2 separate regions of the Homo sapiens genome follow, and region 1 is linked to region 2. Evidence: promoter capture Hi-C in human tissues and cell types (Jung and others, 2019). All regions are on one chromosome and are shown on one strand. The core of a region is centred on a gene start or on the middle of the fragment in contact, and the rest is flanking DNA. Distances in the headings are between cores, read along the strand shown. Region 1 holds the start of OR10H1 (olfactory receptor family 10 subfamily H member 1). Region 2 holds the start of ZNF333 (zinc finger protein 333).

Region 1 (2,797 bases), core at 191-2,690, 1.1 Mb before region 2:
TTGCTGAGTCCTTTGATAATTTCTATGTTAACTTTTTGATAAACTGTCAAACCATTTTGTGTGTTTTTAAAATGCAGATCTGATTCTCCCGTAGATATCTTTCCGTAACTTGGTTTTTCACTCAGCGTCTTAGAGTGAACTCTGTGTGAGTTTATGCAGACCAAAGTTTCTCAGTCTTGGCAATGTCGACATTTTTGTGTTGACAAAATGGCTGGAGTGCCGTGGCTACTCACAGGGGCAATCATAATGCATCGTTATATATAGTAGTATATAGTCCCATTTATATGAAATGTCTAGAATAGGTAAGTCCATAGAGCCAGAGCCAGAAAACAAATTGGTGGTTTTGAAGGACTGGGTGGGGTAGGGGAGTGGCTGCTAATGGGTATTAGGTGATGAAAACATTTTGGAACTAGACAGAGGCGGCGGCCACACAACATTGTGAATGCATTCAATCCCAGGGAATTGTATACTTTAAAGTGGTTGATTATTTTATGTGAATTTCACCTCAAAAGCAGAACGAAGCGAAAGCAACAATAATGCACAACAGAACTCTGATTTTATGGGTTTGCATTGTTTTCACATCCTACATGCTCATGAAGATCTGAAGGGATACCCATTAAATTCACCGTCACGATTGCCTGGCTGGCCATTGCATGGTTTGCTGCTTTGTATGTAGCATTTCAATTACATAATAAGAAGAAACAGGCCAGGCATGGTGGCTCACAGCTGTAATCCCAGCACTTTGAGAGGTCAAGGTGGGAGGATCCCTTGAGCCAAGGAGCTCAAGACCAGCCTGGGCAACAAAGCGAGACCCCATCTCTACAGAAAAATTAAAACTTAGCCCAGGTGTGGTGGCAAGCACCTTTACTCCCAGCTGCTCAGGAGGCTGAGGCAGGAGAATCATTTGAGCCTGGGAGGTTGAGGCTGCAGTGAGCCATAATCACACCACTGCACTCCAGCCTGGGCAACAGAGCTAGACCCTGTCTCAAAAAATAAAAATAAAAACAAATACGTGTGTGTGTGTTGGTTTTAAAAAATTATTTTAAAGGACATTTAGTTGGGCAAATGACCCAGTTGGAGAAGAATGAAGGTGACGGGGCATATCAAGGCAGCCTCTGCAGTCCCTGGGGGCAATGGCAGGGCTGCCCTCCTGTCAATTTCAACAGTCATGGGCCCAAACCCCAAATCTGTAGAGCACTAGACTCTGCTCAAGCTCTTGACAAGCTCAGGGAATTGACTCACCCCTGGCAGGCGGGGGGAATGGGAAAGTGAGGATACAGATTCCCTGAGGTTGCCTCCTCTCTGGCAGGGTCCCTGGGGTCCCAGCATCCCTGTAGCGGAGACAGAGACAGTAGGACCACAGCGAGGGAAGCCGGTGGGCAGGGAGTCAGGGAGGGATAAATAATCGCATTTGGGCTCAGTCAAGCCCCCGGCTCAGCTGGTGTGGCTGCTTGGTGCAGCCCACACCTGGTCAGCTCCCACCTGTGGAGAAACTCCAAACTAGAGCCTCCTACTGGGATGAAGCAGAAGCAGATGCCTGGAGTCCCAGGTGAGTCACCTCCCCTCTCAGCCACCTGACCAGGAGAGACCTGGGGAACCAGCACCTGCCAGGGACTCCAAGAAACCACCTGTTTATATTACTCCTTTAGCAATGTGAGTCTACAGGGCAGTGGGTGACAGGCAGAGGCCACTCACCACGTCTTAGTCAGTGTGCTGTTTGCTTAGCAGGACTTACCTTCTTCTATTTTTTTTTTTTTTTTTTTGAGACGGAATCTCGCTCTGTAGCCCAGGCTGGAGTGCAGTGGCGCAATCTCGGCTCACTGCAACCTCCGCCTGCCAGGTTCAAGCGATTCTTCTCCCTCAGCCTCCTGAGTAGCTGGGACTACAGGTGCGTGCCACCATGCCTGGCTAATTTTTTGTATTTTTAGTAGAGACAGGGGTTTCACCATGCTGGACAGGCTGGTCTTGAACTCCTGATCTCGTGATCCACCCGCCTCGGCTTCCCAAAGTACTGGGATTACAGGCATGAGCCATCGTGCCCAGCCAGGACTTGCCTTCTTTAGAGCTCCTGCTGCCTCATGAGGTAGGTCCCTTGGATGGGGGAGGTAACAGGTGCAGAGAGAAGACAGCCAATGCTCAATGTGACCCAAGGTGATGGTTTGATTTTAACCTCTCTTCTCGGTCTGTCCAGGCAAGAAGTCTACGGAAAAAGGATTGGGAAGAGGCGGAGAAAAGAGAGAAAGAGGATTCAGGGTTCAGAAGCTCCAGCCACCACCCCAGGGTGTAAAGAATCAGGGTGGGCCGGGTGCAGTGGCTCATGCCTGCAATCCCAGCACTTTGGGAGGCCAAGGTGGGAGGATCACTTGAGTCCAAGAGTTTGAGGCCAGCCTGGGCAGCATAGTGAGACCCTGTCTGTACAAAAAAATACAAAAATTGGCCAGGAATGGCAGGCACCTGTAGCTACTCCAGAGATTGAGGTGGGAGGATTGCTTGAGCCCAGGAAGTTAAGGCTGCAGTGAGCTGTGATTGTGCCTCTGCACTCCAGCCTGGGTGACAGAGGGATACCCTGTCTCTCTCTCTCTCTCTCTCTCTCTCTCTCTCTCTCTCTCTCTCTCTCTCTCTCACACACACACACACACACACACACACACACACACAAGGGAGGCGTCAATGGGAGCAGGTGGTGAGGGAATGGTTAGGAGCTGGGGATGAGAAGATGGAGAGAAAAGAGAGGGAAGTGGTGGCTTAAGTGGAAGAGAGGGGAGGCCAGACAGCTTCACTAAGAAGAGAGAGCCAG
Region 2 (3,054 bases), core at 175-2,674:
TTTTTTCCTGATTTCTCAGTAGACACGAGCTTTAACCCCATTATTAAAAAAGACATCCCACTTATGGCCAACTCAATTTGAATTTCCAGTATTAACAAAGTTTATATCGTCTTTTCCCTGAAGTTCCATTAGTTTTGAAGCTCTGTGATTCACATGCTTGGGGGAAGGACTGGAGCCAACTTGAAAAGATCTGAATAACAGTCTTAGGTTTTCTTGATAATAATATTTGTGAAATAACTGAGAAACGGCTTTTCTTAACCTAACAGTGAGAAACTTGATGCCCACAGCAGAAGTAAAAGTCGTCTCAAACATAGAAAATAAAGAAAAACAAAAACAAAAAAAATTAAGAACTCCTCCTTTTGTTGTTGTTTTTGTTTTTGAGATGGAGTCTTGCTCTGTCACCCAGGCTGGAGTGCAGTGGCACAATCTCAGCTCACTGCAACCTCCGCCTCTGGGGTTCAAGCGATTCTCCTGCCTCAGCCTCCCGAGTAGTTGGGATTACAGGCGCCCACCACTACGCTCGGCTAATTTGTGTATTTTTAGTAAAGACAGGGTTTCACCATGTTGGCCAGGCTGGTCTCAAACTCCTGACCTCAGGTGATCCACCCGCCTCGGCCTCCCAAAGTGCTGGGATTATAGGAGTGAGCCACCAAGCCTGGCCAAAAGCTTTCTTATGAGAAAGAAAAAAAAGAAGAAAGAAAAAGTTATGGAAAAGGAAGAGATGCAAAGCCAAGCTAACAGATATTAAGCTAAAAGACTTCAAATTGTCAGTCTCCAAAAGAAATCTCTCGTCATCTAATTCATTCCTTAATGGAGGATGCATTCAATTTTTTAAGTAAATTTGGCCAATCAATTAAACCAGTTTGCACATGTGGACCCAGACCTCACTTTCCAGTTGCAAAGCTAGATAATATTAAGTATCATATCAAATAAAACGTGAATTACTAATTCGCAGTTATCTTGCATACTGTAGGCAAGGTAGGGCCGTCTTTATGCACTTTCCCTAAAAATTGGGAAGGACAGGTGAGAGCTGGGGCCGGTGTCACCACATTTCTGAGCTGTGGGACCTGGACTGTTTGGGATTTCCCTTTTGACAGGATGACAGCCCTGTCTGCCCGGACGGGGGGTACCTGAGAGCGAGAGACCGGGCGGCGGGCGCCCAGATGCGAGGCCCTGACTGTGTGGGCCTCACGCCGGCCACCGGCTGATCGCAGGGAGGAAACCCCTCACACAGGCGGAGCTGTTCTAGGCCCTCCAGTCCCTCCCCGCGCCAGCCGAGCCCTCCCCGCCCTCCCCGCCCTCCCGAGGGGCCGGGCCACACCTGCAAGCCAGCCGGAGACACTCCCACCGTGCCGTGCCGCACCGCGCCGCGCCGCGCAGCACAGCTCAGCCGCCGTCGGCCGCCGCCGCGCGCACTTCCGCTTCCGGTCTCGGGGCCGCCGGGAACGGAAGTGGCTGTGGCTCAGGCTGTTGTGGCCAGGGTAGCCTTAGGCGGCGGCAGAGAAACTAACGTCTTCTTTAGCCTCCAAGGAGAAATTCTAGTATTCTTACCCGGGGGATGAGGTTAGGCTCTGGAGTGGGGTCCCACAGAGCATGGAGGGTGGTGCTGGGGGCGGAGCCTATGTCCGAGAGACAGGGATAGGGGTGGGGCTTAGGTCCCGGGGCAAAAGTGGGGCGGGGCCTGTGCGCGGGGGCGGGGTGGAGTGTGGCTTGCCCTCCGATGGCTGATGGGCGGGGCTTGCACCCCAATGGCGGAGTGGGCGGGGCCTTGGTTTGCAGGGTGGTAGTAGGGGCGGGTCGTGCGCCTCAGGGGCAAAAATGGGGCGGGGCTTGTGCTTGGGGTGGGAATGGGAGCTGAACTTGCATTCGGAAGGCGGGATGAGGGGACCTGGGCTTCAAGGGTTGAGAGGGGCACACCCGACCCCTCCCCGGGTCTCTTTAGGGATGCTCAATATTTAACTTACCCTTTTCTCCTTCCTTTTCCCCAACCCCTTCCACCTTTATCCATGGGCTTAATCCAATCCCCTACAAAAATATACCCATACTTAAGATTGTTTTTGTATATTTTTATACGGCTGACCCTTAGGCAACGGGAGTTGGGGCGCCACCCTGTGCAGTGGAAAATTCACTTCTTTTGACTCCCCCAAAACCTACCTACTAATAGACTACTGTTAACCAGAAGCTTTACCAATAACATAAAGTTAGTTAACACATATTTTGTATATTATATGCCATATTCTTAAAATAAACTAAGCTCAGAGAAAAGAAAGTGTTATTAAGAAAATCATGAAGAAGAGAAAATATATTTACTCTTCGTTACGTGGAAGTGATCGTAAAGATCATAAATAAACGTCTTCATCGTCAGCTTCACCCTGAGTAGGCTGAGGAAAGGGAGGGGTTTGTCTTGCTGTCCCAAGGAGGACAAAGGTAGAAAAAAATCTACCTATAAGGGGATAGCCACAGTTCAAACCCTTGGTGTTCACGGGTCAACTAACTGTCTTTATTCTAAAAATAGGACGATGTATTTTTGTTTCTTCTACAGCTTGCCCTTCTCACTAAAAATAAGATGTGTGAATCTAAGACATAGATCTGACTTTTTAAAAACTATTTATTATGTAGTATACATAGTACATACCTATGGGAAAAGTTCAAACGGGAGGCTCACTCTATTCCTAAATTTTCCTCCCCTGAAACAACCACTGTCACTAGTTCCCTGGTATTCTTTATATATCAAGCACATGTGCAGTCATGCACCACATAACAAGGTTTTGGTCAACCACGAAACACATACACAGTTGTGATCCCATAAGGTTATAATGGAGCTGAAAATTTCTTATCACCTAGTGATGTTGTAACTGTCACAATGTTGCAGTGCAACACATTACTCACATTTAAAAAGGTTTTAAAAATATGAAAAGACCGGGCGCGGTGGCTTACGCCTGCAATCCCAAGACTTTGGAGGCCGACGCTGGTGGATCACTTGAGGTCAGGAGTTCGAGACCAGCCTGGCCAACATGATGAAACCCCCAGTCTCTACTAGTAATACAAAAATTA

Evidence for each region. The method cuts DNA at HindIII sites, captures the fragments that hold promoters and counts their contacts. A contact is called where the count stands out against the background at its distance.
Region 1: a contact is called between the fragment with the promoter of OR10H1 here and the fragment with the promoter of ZNF333 in region 2, in 1 of the 25 tissues and cell types used here (adrenal gland).

What each region holds. Positions count from the first base shown.
Region 1 is chr19:15,814,307-15,817,103 of GRCh38, reverse strand. OR10H1 (olfactory receptor family 10 subfamily H member 1) reads left to right here and starts at 1,440. Exons shown (of 4, transcript NM_013940.4): 1 at 1,440-1,549. The HindIII fragment of the contact is 22,557 bases long and covers 1-2,797 here.
Region 2 is chr19:14,688,418-14,691,471 of GRCh38, reverse strand. It overlaps ZNF333 (zinc finger protein 333), which reads right to left and starts at 1,424. Exons shown (of 12, transcript NM_032433.4): 1 at 1,322-1,424. RefSeq lists silencers at 1,081-1,450, 1,781-1,830. The HindIII fragment of the contact is 4,983 bases long and covers 1-3,054 here.